2 separate regions of the Homo sapiens genome follow, and region 2 is linked to region 1. The links are contacts of gene promoters, found by promoter capture Hi-C in blood cells and fetal thymus (Javierre and others, 2016). All regions are on one chromosome and are shown on one strand. The core of a region is centred on a gene start or on the middle of the fragment in contact, and the rest is flanking DNA. Distances in the headings are between cores, read along the strand shown. Region 1 holds the start of LIMK2 (LIM domain kinase 2). Region 2 overlaps OSBP2 (oxysterol binding protein 2).

Region 1 (6,546 bases), core at 2,311-4,810:
GCTTGAACCCGGGAGGCAGAGGTTGCAGTGAGCCGAGATCGCACCAGTGCACTCCAGTCGGGGCGACAGAGCAAGACTCCATCTCAAAAAAAAAAAAAAAGCAAAATACCTTTAAAAAATTTCTTAAAATCATCATATCCAATCACATTGTTCAGATTTCCCTAGTTGTCTCATAACTTGTGTAGTTTCAATTGAGATCCAAATCAGTTTCATACATTGCTATTATTTGTCTCTGAATTTTTTTTTTTTTTTTTTTTGAGACAGAGTTTCACTTGCCGCCCAGACTGGAGTGCAGTGATGCGATCCCAGCTCACTACAGCCCCCGTCTCCCGGGTTCAAGTGATTCTCATGCCTCAGCCTCCTTGGTAGCTGGGACTACAGGCGCCCGCCATCATGCCTGGCTAATTTTTTGTTTTTTTGTGTGTGTGTTTGTGTGACAGAGTCTCGCTCTGTTGCCCAGGCTGAAGTGCAGTGGCGGGATCTCGGCTAACTGCAAGCTCCACCTCCTGGGTTCACACAATTCTCCTGCCTCAGCCTCCCAAGTAGCTGAGACTACAGGTGCCCGCCACCACGCCCGGCTAATTTTTTTTGTATTTTTAGTACAGACGGGGTTTCACCATGTCAGCCAGGATGGTCTCAAGCTCCTGACCTCATGATCCACCCGCCTCAGCCTCCCAAAGTGCTAGGATTACAGGGGTGAGCCACCTTGCCTGGCCTGTCTATGAAATTTTTTCTACTCTGCAGTTTATCTGTTAAAGAAACTAGGTTATTTGTCCTGTTGCATTTCCCACAGCATCATTTTTGCTATTTGCATCATGGAAATGTTATTAAGCTCCTCTTCTCCATGTATTTCCTGTAAGTTGGTTGTTAGATCTAGAAGCTTGACCAGATTCAAGCTTATTATTTTTGTTTTGTAAGACTACGTCATAGGTGATAGTATATACTTGGTGCGTCTTACCTGGAGGCACTTAATGTCTGGTAGTCCTACTTTGTGATGTTACAGATGCCACTATATCATTTAGAGTTGAGAAACAAGACTGCACTCTGGGCAGAGTGGGGCACAAAATTACAGAGAACCTGGAGAGCTGGTTGTTGTAGGAATGGCAGGTGGCGCAAGGCAGGATGTGCTCAGGAAAAAGCAGAGTCCTGGAGTGAAGGGAATAGGGAGACAAGTCCGCAGGGTGAGATGTAGTCAGCTCATGAGGACTGGTTTGGCTTTTATTTTGTAGGCAGTGGGGTGCTGTTGAAGGGTTTTGAACAGAGAGATGACAGGTCCAGAAACATACTTTTGGAAGATTAACACAGTCAGTTTTGGGTAGGATGATTCAGGGAGGGCAGAGACTGGCTCAGTTTGAAGCAAGTGGAAGTGACACTGGGCAAGTCTGGTTGGGTACCAGTGGACCAGTACCTTCAAGAGGGCAGAACCTTGAGTTGTTTTTCAAGGTCCAGGTTTCAGGATCCTAGGCTCAGAGAGTTGACTGTGAGGCGGCTGGCAGGATCTGGCCCTAGGGACTGACCAAGCTATGGCCAGTGAAACAAACTGTGGACAGGTAACCTGGGTGCTATTGAAACTCAGTTGGTCTACTCCCTGCCCAGGCTTTCTCTACCCTCCAGAAGTCCCCCTTGAGTTCACAAGTGATTTCTGGAATGTTCTTTGGGTCCATATTAAAAATATATCTCTTGGCTATAGCATTTCTATAGAAAGCTATTCCCTTCCATTACATTTTCAACTTGTGTTTCTCAGAGTCGCCTGAACTTCCCTGGGAGGAACTTGGGGGACTTGGCTATTCCCCAGCTCCCTGCTGGTGAAGACCATGAGGCTGGAGGTAGGAGGAAGTGGAATGTGAGAGAGAATGAGGAGGGAGAAGAGATAGACCTGGGTGCCTTGGTGTGGAACGGAGGGAGAGGGAAGACACCCAGGAGGTTTTGGTTCCCAGGATGCCAGTGCTTTGTTGCCTGGGAAAATACAGTGTTACATCTTTCTGTAGGAAGGATGGGGAAAGTCCCTGTCCCCTGTTTGCTAGCCATGAGGCAGCTTGTCAGGAGAGTCTCTGGATTCCTGTCACTTTAATTCAATACACAATCTTGTGTTTACTATAATGATTTCCTCAGAAACTACAAAACTGAGTACTGAAAAGAGTTCCCAGGAATTAACGGAAATGGGACAGAGCCCTCCTCCCCAGCACTTTGTGCACACTCAGGACATCGTGAGCCACCTGCCACACCCAGAAGAGAAAAATCTGACCGGCATCCGGTTTGAATTAGAGCAGGAAGGAAGAGAATTGTGCTCGCCTTTGTCTTTGCCTTTGCCTTTGCTTACCCAACTGCTGGGACCAGAGGCAGCTGGGTTGAACTTTGTCTTTGGTCAGGGGTGGGGGTGGAGGGGACAGAATCCATTTCCCTGGGCTCCATCCTCTTTCTGGTCATTTGGACATGTTTCCTGTGATCTAAATCTGATGTAAGGAAATGACAATTGTGAAAGACCCAGCGTGAGAGAATCTGATGGGAGGGTGGGTCATCAGGGACCAGCTGGCCTGGCTGATGATGTATTAATATCTTAATCACACAGAGGACCCCAATCTCCTTCCAAACCTAATGAGCGGAAGTGGTTCTCAAAGCTACTCAGCCAGCTAGCAGCTGCCATAACCCAGTCAGCTGTCCTAACTCTTAGTCCTGTAATCCCTCCTCCTCATAGAAGATTGTAAACTGGCAGCCCACAGGGCAAATCTAGTGGCCAGGTGTGTTTCATTTGGTCTACATGGCATTTTAAGAACTTTTTGATGCTATCAACATTTTTTAAAAGTGGCAAATTTCACCTAAATATCTGGATTTTTGGCATGTTTTGAAAGGTTGGAAGACCTGGGAATGGTAGGCCCATGTTCCTGCAGGGGAGTGCTCGTCTTCCAATGCGGCGCACAAGCTCCAGCGTCCTGCGCTAAACCTAATTGGCCTGGCTGAGGATCTGCTCCTGGAATGCTGGTTGGTCGCCTCCAACTGTCTTTGACTTAGAGATTATTTACTGTCAGCTTACTCATAGTGGCGCAGAGAAGTGGTTTCTCTGAGCTAGAAGCTTCTAAGAAAAGTCCATCCTCAAAGCTGTTTGTGGGATAGACCTGGCTCCTCCATTGTAATATTCCTGATTCCAAACACTACTGGAAAGAGCTCTGAACTGGCAGTTAGCAGGCCTGGGCTCCCATCCCGGCTCTCCTCCTAATGAGCGAAGCCATTTCAATGTAGTCGAACTTAGCCTCTGATCCTTAACTTTCCCTATCTGTAAATGAGGGCGACTAGATGGGTGCGGACTGTCATCCGTGTTGAGACTTCCGGCCCCCGCAGAATCAACCTTACCGGCGGGAGCACCTCGAGGGGACGCCGCTCGCACTAGGGGGCGCCAGGGCCGCTGCAGAGCCCGAGCCAGAGCCAGGGGGCGGGGCCGCGTCTCGGGAGCGAGGCCTGAGAGCGGCGGGGCGGGGCGTCGGCGGGCAGTCCCCTGTGCCAGGTGTGGTTTGGTCCTCCCAGGGCGCCGTAGGCGGTGCATCCCGTTCGCGCCTGGGGCTGTGGTCTTCCCGCGCCTGAGGCGGCGGCGGCAGGAGCTGAGGGGAGTTGTAGGGAACTGAGGGGAGCTGCTGTGTCCCCCGCCTCCTCCTCCCCATTTCCGCGCTCCCGGGACCATGTCCGCGCTGGCGGGTAAGGAAGGGCTGCTCCGCCCTGTCCCGCTGTTATCTCCGAAGTCCGGTTCCATGGCGCCTGAGGGAAACCGGCTGTCTCTCGGGGGTTTCGGGCTGGTTGGGTCCTCGTGGGTCCGAGCTCCTCAGAAAAGCTGGGAGGCGGGGTGGGCACAGCGCTCCCCAGGCATTTGGAGGGTGGGACTCCGGGAATGGGGAGGCAGGGCATCCTGGAGACAGAGGGCTCCGAGGGGCAGGCGGGTTGGGAGGCTTCCCGCGAGTTGAGGTCCCGGGGAGGAAGAGATTCTGGGTCTGCCAGGAATCCAGCTTTTTGGAGGGACCTGGCGGCCGCAGACCCCCAAATTAACCCTTTTTAAGGAAGTTGAAAAGCATGGGGTTCTCTTATAGTGGAAGCTCTGTGGAATTTGAGGAGTACAGGATCCTCTAGGGTTCAGGACAATTAGGAGAGTTACCCCGGGTTCTGGGTTTTCTGAGGGAAATGGAGGATGTGACTTCCCTGCCAAGACCCAAGGCTTCTCGCGGGCATCTTGGTGTCTGGGAGTCCCCCGGGGCTGGGAGCTCTTTGCAGAAAATAAGGGAGTATGGAGCCCCTTGAGGTTTAGGACAGGACTAAGGGTAAGGAGAGATCGGACCATTCTTTTTGGGGCCCAAAGATCTCTGCTACAGGTGGCGAAAGTAGGCCACCTGGGGTTCTGAGTCCTCCTGTGGAAGCTCCCTTGGCCTCTCTAGACTAAAGACTAGAGGGATTCGGCCAAACACCTCCTGGAAGGAAGAGTTGTCTAAGGGTGAAGGGTAGCTTCAGAGTTGGGTTAGTTGCACCTGCAGTCACCTCCCCGCCACCTCACACACCACCCTGCAGCTTCCTGCCTTCCCCATCTTTTCCCCCAGCAGTAGGAACCTTCTGTCTCCTATGTTTCCCAGCCACCTGTGTGGGTGGCCCACCTCTGGGTCCACCAGGGTCAGCGTCCAGAAGCTTTGGAGAGGCGGCAAGAGGGTATTGAGGTGGAGGGGGGCTGGCTATCTGCCCCCTGCTTCCTGGCTTTCCGTCTGTGGACAGTCACTTCCTTCATCTTGAATGCAAGGACTGGGCTACCAGTGGGTCACTTCCTCAGCAAGGGAGCATGGGATTTTCTCTTCACTGGTGATAACAGACTTCTGGAGAGAGCTAGGGGTGGAAATGCCTAAAACAAATTTTTTTAGGCTGGGCGTGGTGGCTCATGCCTGTAATCCCAGCACTTTGGGAGGGCAGGGCAGGAGGATCGCTTGAGTCCAGGAGTTTGAGACCAGCTTGGGCAATATAGCGAGACTTCATCTCTTAAAAACAAAACCTTGTCTCTTAAAAAAGATTTTTTTTAAGCTTACAGAGTCCTTCAACTCGAATGATTTCCAGTAACTTTTTTTTTTTTTTCTTAGATGGAGTCTTGCTCTGTCGCCCAGGCTGGGGTGCAGTGGCACAATCTTGGCTCATTGCAACCTCTGCCTCCCGGGTTCAAGCGATTCTCCTACCTCAGCCTCCCGAGTAGCTGGGACAACAGGGGCCCGCCACCACGCCCGGCTAATTTTTTTGGTATATTTAGTAGAGATGGGGTTTCACCATATTGGCCAGGCTGGTCTTGAACTCCTGACCTTGTGATCCGCCCGCTTCGGCCTCCCAAAGTGCTGGGATTACAGGCGTGAGCCACCGCACCCGGCCGATTTCCAGTAACTTTTTCTAACAGCTGTGTAATATAGGTTGCCTGTCTTGAACCCTGTTTCTTAGAAAATTGTGAAAGGTTTCACAGTACAATAGTCTAGAGGCATAAAGCCTCTAGATGCATTAGTTTATGCATTCTTTCTTTCATTCAAAGAATATTTGTTGGATTCTTCTGTGTCATATACTTAGCCAAATGCTGAGTACAGTGGTGACATAGTTCTTGGCTTTGTGGTGCTTAATAATCCTAGAGATGGACAATAAATAATTGTAACAATTGCAATAAATGCTATAATAGTTAAGGTAAACAATTGAGATAAGTGCTGTAAGAGTGCACCAGGGGTGAGGGTTTTCTCTACTTTTTTTTCTGTTTTGGTAGAGACAGGGTCTCACTATGTTGCCCACGGTGGTTTCAAGCCATCCTCCTGTCTCAACCTCCCAAAGTGCTGGGATTACAGGCATGAACCACCATGCCCATCCTCTACTTTTTTTTTTTTTGAAGGGAATACTTTTCTTAAAAATGCAAGTTTATGCTGACCCCTGGAGATAAGTAAAAGTTAGCCTGGCAAAAAAAGCTCACAGAGCATTCCAGGCAGAGGAAACAGCATAAAAAGGCCCTAGGGTAGGAAGGCATGTAGTGCCTTTGAGCCTTGGAGCTGGGAGGTCAATATGGTTTTTTGATTTTTTTGTAGGGGGTGGGGAGGAAGAGTCTTGCTCTGTTGCCCATGCTGGAGTACAGTGGCGCGATCCAGACTCACTGTACCCTCCACCTCCCAGGTTCAAGTGAATCTTCTGCCTCAGCTTCCTGAGTAGCTGGGACTACAGGCAAGTGCTACCACGCCCAGCTAATTTTTTGTATTTTTATTAGAGACGGGGTCTTACCATGTTGCCCAGGCTGGTCTCAAACTCCTGAGCTCAGGCAGTCCACCCGCCTTGGACTCCCAAAATGCTAGGATTATAGGCGTGAGCCACCATGCCCAGCCAAGTATGGCTTTTTTATAGATGAGGAGACAGGCCCAGAAATGACAAGGTTCCATAGCTAAATGAGCAGTGGTGGTCAGAGTTCATATTTTCCAACTTCAAGTTTAGTGCTTCCTCCTCTCTGTAGCACAAAAAGCAGAATGAAGTTGACTATGGAGTCTGAGAAGGAAGTGGGACTTAAACTTTCAC
Region 2 (7,144 bases), core at 4,125-6,624, 450 kb before region 1:
CTGTAGAATGCCCTGGAATGCAGTGGCCTTTTCTCCAGCCAGTTTGGTATTCCTTCCGTTTTGCCTGGTGGCAGCTCTCACATTCCCTTCCACCTGTGTATTTGGGGCTGGATGACACATTGTTCCCTGTGTGGAATTTATTTGTTCTTAATTGTTATGCCCAAATATTGTGTCACATTGATCAAACTCCAAGAAATCAGAGGCACACAGCACTTGAGAGAATTACTCTGAGTCTTTCTTTCTGCTGCTTGGGGAAAAAATAGATTTTCCTTTGAATCTTTTGGCTGGACTTCAGCCAAAAATTGGGCAGACTTTTCCAAGTGCGTGAGAAGATGCTGAAACTCCCTGGATGTGTTTTCCCTGCACACTCCCTCTGTTTATAGTTCCTGTTTATTGTTGACATTGGAAGGCTCCTGTTCTGTGAAAGAAAGCAACGCAATCCTGCAAGGTCACTGAAAGGCAAAATGGTTCTTATGCACTAAAGTGCATGCATATGTCCCTCAGCAGGCTTTGATTGGTGTCCTTGTGTGTCCTGGGGGCTGAGCCAGATGCAGGGAACTCAGAGATGAACAGGCACAGGCTTGGACCTGGCCTTTAAGGAGCTCACTGTTTGGGGCTGAGGAGAGACTCATGTGGGCAGCACAGGTATGCTGGCCCATGCAGAGGAGAGAAGAGCTGTACCTGGGGTGGAGTAGGCACCTCACTGTTTCCCCGTGCCCCTTGGCTTACACCCCACCCTGCTCTGTAGCAAGCTGCCTTACCTTCCCCATGTCCTTTGTGTCACCCCCGAGGGCTCTCCCTTGGCCTCAGGGAAGCCTGTGTGCTGTGCTGTCCTGCCCCGCCGGCCTCATCTTGGGGTCTCCATGTGTGTCTGACTTCTCCACCTGGAGCTCCTCTGCATGGACCTCCTGCTGCTGTGCTGGGGCAGGGGTTGACCTGTCCAGCCCCCTGGCTTCTGGATCAGCTTTGGTCATTGCCTCTTGGGGCTGCCCTTGCCCCATCTCAAAGCCTCCCATTGCCATATAGCTTTCTGCTGACTACATCTTCCTGTCCCCATCACTGATCTTCCCATCTGTCTTCAAGCTCATAAAAACTCCCCGTCCTTGACCCCTCTGCTTTCTTCCTGTATACCCACTCTTTCTGCTGGGCAGCCTCTCCTCTTTCTTGCTGGGACCCTATCTTCCTGACCTCTTAGCTTTCAGCACACGCATCTCCAACGCCCTAGCCAGGATCAGCTCACTTGTGTCCCCCTGTGGGCACTTCTCAGCTGCTGATGGACAACATCTATAGATCTATAGCTGTGTAGGCCGTGGCCACTAAACAGTCATGCTTTACACCCACTGGGCATGCCAGACCCACAGGGGCGCTTAGAGCAGAGTGGGTGCAGAGCTCTGGGCAGCTGATGGCTGGGACCTCAGATGATGTCCTGGGCCACAGATCAGGAGACTTCCCTGCTGGGCTGGAGATGTACAGGGCCCCATATCACCAGAGAGACCAGAGCTCACCACAGGACCAAGCAGCCTTTCAAGAGAGTCCTTATTATCAGATTCTCATTCCTTTCTTATCCTTTATTAGAAAAATTCATATGAGGAAGGGCATGGAGTTTTCTGCTGTTCTGATGAGGAATCAGGCAACCCCAGGACCGTGTGATTGGTTGTTTAAGCAGCTTCCGAAGTGTAGGCCTCTTTTGACTTCGGGAAGCTTTGTCTTATTTCCAGCTGCCATCTGGTGGCTGGATTGAGGCCCTTCTGAGGGCATGTTGAGTCAACCAGGGCTGGCTTGCTCACCTGTCTTTATAAGGTCCCCACAGGGTCATCAGAATGTGAGACCTCTGGGGAGAAGAGTCCAACCAGGAGAAGGAACTTTCACCTACGCAGCCCCCACCCTCCAAGAGGGGCAAACCTGGCCCAGGGACTGGTCGATTGTGCCCCTCTTCAGCGTTCCCCTCCCTGTGCCACTCATTCTTCCAAATCCTGGTGTCTTGGTGCCTCTGCTAGGATTGCACCCCACCCGTCTCAGCCCTCAGGTCCACCAGGGCCCTTGGCCATGGAGCTTGTCCTCAACCCCTGGGCCTCGTTCCCTGGTCGGCATGCTCTTGCATCTTCAGCTGTGCCTTAACGTGGAGCACCAGTCCCCACGCAGCCTGACCCCACTAGGCCCTGTCCACCTCTGCCCCCACATGGTCACCTCCAGACTCTGTGGGCTCTGGCTCAGTAATCTTAAAATCAGAAGCCCTGTTCTGGCCACCACAGCAGTTACCCTTCCAGTGCCCTTCCAGATCTGACTCCTCCAGGTGGCAGTTGCGTTTTTCTTTTCCTTTCTCACTTGGCCTCGCCCTGTGGTTCATCCCTGCTGGGGTGAGTTCTTCCTCTCTCTCCTGGTTGTCTGGCTTCCTTCACACCTGTTTGTCCTCTGTCTAACCATGGGGCAGCCCAGGCACTAGACAGGTTGGGCCCAAATCCAGACTGTGTCACTTATAAGGTGGGTCCCTCTGCCTCTGTCTCTTCACCCACAAAGTGTATGTAATGATAAAGACCTTTTAGGGGCCAGGCATGGTGTCTCACGCCTGTAACCCCAGCACTTTGACTTTGGGAGGCTGAGGTGGGCGGATCACGAGGTCAGGAGTTCCAGACCAGCCTGACCAATACGGTGAAACCCCGTCTCTAGTAAAAATACAAAAATTAGCTGGGCATGGTGGCGCACGCCTGTAGTCACAGCTACTCAGGAGGCTGAGGCAGAAGAATCGTTCGAACCCGGGAGGTGGAGTTTGCGGTGAGCAAAGATCATGCCGCTGCACTCCAGCTTGGACGACAGAGCGAGACTCCATTAAAAAAACAAAACAAACAAACAAAAAAAACCTCTTAGAGTTGTCAAGAGGGATAAATCAAATCATGCTACAAACTGCCCAGCAGTCACTGGAGTGTGGTGGCCACTCAGCTGACGGAAGTAACATTGTCAGTCTTTGGGTGATGACCTGTCAGTTCTGCACCTTCTACCTTCAGGCAGGGGTGATAGGGCCCTTTGCTGAGCACACGTACACATGCTATGCAGCCACGTTCTGCAGTGACCCTCCCAGCCATGCAGACAACACTCCTCAAACCCAGGGTATCTGCTGTGTGGTGACCCCTTCCAACCATGCAGACCACACTCCTCAAACGCAGGGTATCTGCTGTGCGTTGACACCTCCCAGCCAGGCAGACCACACTCCTCAAACCCAGAATATCTGCTGGCCTTGATCAGTACCTGTCCCCTTTGTGTGAGTCCCTCACCACCTTTCTCTCCCATCTCCCAGGGACGTCCTTGCTACTCTGTATATTTTCACTGCTGCCTCCTGCCACACTGCAAAAGATCTTGCTTCCTCATGCATAGAACAAAACCAGATCCACAGCTGAGCCCCTCAGCTCTCTGCCATTACACGCTCCCTGCGTCCCCCCTGCCATATGAATCCCAAATGATTCCAGTGGAGACATTTCTCCCCTTTGAAGCAGTGCCAGCTTCAAAGGGTGATTTTCTCCCTCTTGCTGGGGGACTTGGTTTTATCGCTGTTTTCTTTTTCCTTTTCTTTTCTTTTTTTTTTGAGACAGAGTCTCTGTCGCCCAAGCTGGAGTACAATGGCATGATCTCGGCTCACTGCAACCTCCGCCTCCCGGGTTCAAGTGATTCTCCTGTCTCAGTCTCCCGAGTAGCTGGGTCTACAGGTGGGTGCCACCATACCTGGCTAATTTTTGTATTTTCGGTAGAGACAGGGTTCCACCATGTTGGCCAGGCTGGTCTCAAACTCCTGACCTCAAGTGGTCTGCCCGCCTCGGCCTCCCAAAGTGCTGGGATTACAGACATGAGCCACTGCACCCAGCCTTATTGCTGTTTTGTCACTCCTGTAGCCTCAACCTCTCTCCTGGCCTCTTCCCACTGCATATGACCCACCACTCACTACTTTGAAACTGTACTAGCCAAGGTCTCAGGTCACTTTCCAGACCTGGCAGATGACTAAGAAGTGAACCTGGGTGTCACCTTGAGTCCTGCCCTCCCTGATCCCTCATGTGCAGCTTGTCAGCAGATCCTGTCAGTGCCAGACCTGAGCACTTTCACATCTGCCCACTGCCCTCCATCTGCCTGGCCTCCAACCCAGTTTCACTATCTGACCTCCCAGAGTCTGGACAGCAAGAGTGAGTCTTTTAAAATCCAATTCTGCTCAGTTCCAGTTCCAGGTAGGATTAAGTGAGAAGGTTTCACTCTGCAGCTATGAAACATGGACAGGGCCAGGCACAGTGGCTCATGCCTGTAATCCGTGCACTTTGGAAGCCTGAGGCAGGCCGATCACTTGAGGCCAGGAGTTCGAGACCGGCCTGGCCAACATGGTGAAACCCCATCTCTACTAAAAATACAAAAATTAGCCGGGTGTGGTGGCGCACGCTTGTAGTCCAGCTACTGGGGAGGCTGAGGTGTGATAATCACTTGATCCCGGGAGGAAGAGGTTGCAGTGAGCCGAGATGGCACCACTGCATTCCAGCCTGGGTGACAGAGCGAGACTCTGTCTCAAAAATAAAATAAAATAAAATGTGGACAGAATGCACAGAGCAGCTATTTGAGCACCCTGAAAATTAAGTAGCCACAAGCAGACTAGAGAAGACCAGAATCTGAGGTAACACCAAACAGGTGGTGAGGTTACAATTTTTTCCCTCCAGTATCTTCTAGAGTGGACTCAGGGGAGACCCAGAAGTGAGCAGACAGAGAAAACTCCTGGAGAAGCCCTCTAGTTCAGGCTCAAGGAGGAAAGGGTCCCCTGTCAGTGATAGCAGTGGCGATGAGAGGCCTGCAGGTACCAAAAACTCAGAGGAATCCATGCACACCAGTAGGAAGAGCTCTGGGCCCAAGAAGTGAGGGAACCCCTGTTCCATTTTTCTCTCACTCTTCCTACCACTTAGCCCCCGATATAGGTGTGGTGGTGGGAAGTGGGCAGCCAGAGGACTGAAACAGAGCCCAAGAGAACCAGAAAAAAACAGGAAATCACAGAAAGAGAACACCTTGGGAAAGTGACCCCATAACGTTGTTTTCATGAACTCCTGGCTTCACGTTCAAGCCGCACATGGATGGATCTGATCCTAAACAGCATACTAAAGATTTTGAGAACTGAACTTAAAGCTGCATGAATACCCACGTCCCTGTGGCCACTGGCTGGCACACATGTGGAACAGATCCAACTAGTACTGCAAAGGGCCGGGCGCAGTGTAACCTGGCACTTTGGGAAGCCGAGACAGGTGGATCACTTGAGGCCAGGAGTTCGAGACCAGCCTGGCCAACACGGTGAAACCCCGTCTCTACTAAAAATACAAAAATTAGCCAGGCGTGGTGGTGCACACCTGTAATCCCAGCTACTCGGGAGGCTGAGGCAGGAGAATCGCTTGAGCCTGGGAGGCAGAGCTTGCAGTGAGCCGAGATTGCACCACTGCACTCCAGAGCAAGACTCTGTCTCAAAAACAAAAACAAATAGTACTGCAAAGGCTTTGAAAATGGAACAAACAGTGAAACCACCACCCAGAGACGGCTGGTCACTACCTGTGGCCTTAACCCAACTTATTTGATAGACTGCTAAAATGAAAATATCAAATTACCAACATCAGGAATGAAATAAACAATTAATAGCACTAACAAACATAAAAGGACAATACTACAAAAACATAAAATAGATACATAATACATAAAAGGAATGCTACAGACAACTCTGCTGACAAATTTGACAACTTGGATGAAATGAACCAATTCTTCAAAAATCAAATTCTAACACTTGCCCAAGATCAAATCCATAAACTGAATAATCCTATAACTATTAAAGAAGTTGCATTCATAGTTTAAAACACTTCAAAAAAGAAGTCTTCAGGCCTACATGATTTCACAGGTAAATTTTATCAAATATTTGAAAAAAGAATAACACTATTTCCACACAATCTCTTCCAGAAAACAGAAGAGGAATGAGTAATTTCTTTTCTTTTTTAATTTTTCTTTTCTTTTTTTTTTGAGACAGTGTCTCGCTCTGTTGCCCAGGCTGGAGTGTGCAGTGGTGCAGTCTTGGCTCACTGCAACCTCTGCCTCCCAGGTTCAAGCAGTTCTCCTCCCTCAGCCTCCTTAGTAGCTGGGATTACAGGCATGTGCCACCACGCCCAGCTAATTTTTTTTTTTGTATTTTTAGTAGAGACAGGGTTTCACCATGTTGGCCAGGGTCATCCTGAACTACTGACATCAGGTGATCCGCCTGCCTTGGTCTCCCAAAGTGCTGGGATTACAGGCGTGAGCCACTGCACCCGGCTTTTTTTTTTTTTTTGAGACAGAGTCTTGCACTGTTGCCCAGGCTGGTCTCAAACTCCTGACCTCAAGTGATCTGCTCGCCTTGGCCTCCCAAAGTGCTAGGATTACAGGAGTGAGTAATTTCTAACTCATTTATAAGGACAGCATACCCTGATACCAAACTGAACAAAGATAGTGTAAGAAAAGAAAACTTCGGACCAATATTTCTCATGAGCATAGATGAAAACATCTTCAACAAAATATTAACAATTTGAAACCAGCAATACAATAGAATATTACACCATGATCAAGTGGATTTCATGCTAGGAGTGCAAGATGAGTGCAAGATAGGTGCAAGATAGGTTCCATGTTTGAAAATCAATAAATGGGGCTGGGGGCAGTGGCTCACACCTGTAATCCCAGCACTTTGGAAGGCCAATGCAGGCAGATCACTTGAAGTCAGGAGTTCAAGAGCAGCTTGGCCAACATGGTGAAACCCTGTCTCTACTGAAAATACAAAAATTAGCCAGGCATGGTGGTGCACACCTGTAGTCTCAGCTACTTAGGAGGCTGAGTCAGGAGAATCGCTTGAACCCTGGCAGGGCGGAGGTTGCAGTGAGTGGAGATCGCACCACTGCACCCCAGCCTGGGCAACAGAGCAAGACTCTGTCTCAAAAAAAGAAAAAAAAAAGAAAATCAATATAAATGGAATCATAATATTAACAATCTAAGAAAAACTACATTATAATATCAATTGATACAGAAAAAGGCATTTGACAAAATTTAACATTATTCATGGTAAAAACTCTCAGCAAACTAGGAGACTCCTCCACCTGATTAAGGGCATCTTCAAGAAACTGAC

What was found. Contacts are between HindIII fragments. The CHiCAGO score rates a contact against its expected background, and 5 or more counts as called.
Region 2: a fragment that was not itself captured here is called in contact with the fragment with the promoter of LIMK2 in region 1 in 1 of 17 cell types (naive CD4 T cells); the score reaches 5.3 in naive CD4 T cells.

What each region holds. Positions count from the first base shown.
Region 1 is chr22:31,208,738-31,215,283 of GRCh38, forward strand. LIMK2 (LIM domain kinase 2) reads left to right here and starts at 3,561. Exons shown (of 16, transcript NM_005569.4): 1 at 3,561-3,687. The coding sequence starts at 3,672. RefSeq lists enhancers at 3,102-3,281, 4,244-5,169 and a silencer at 3,262-3,661. The HindIII fragment of the contact is 1,589 bases long and covers 3,069-4,657 here.
Region 2 is chr22:30,753,863-30,761,006 of GRCh38, forward strand. All of the region lies in intron 2 of OSBP2 (oxysterol binding protein 2), which reads left to right. Among named protein-coding and RNA genes, the nearest start is that of MIR3200, 26 kb to the left of the region's middle. RefSeq lists a silencer at 1,660-1,809. The HindIII fragment of the contact is 7,351 bases long and covers 1,700-7,144 here.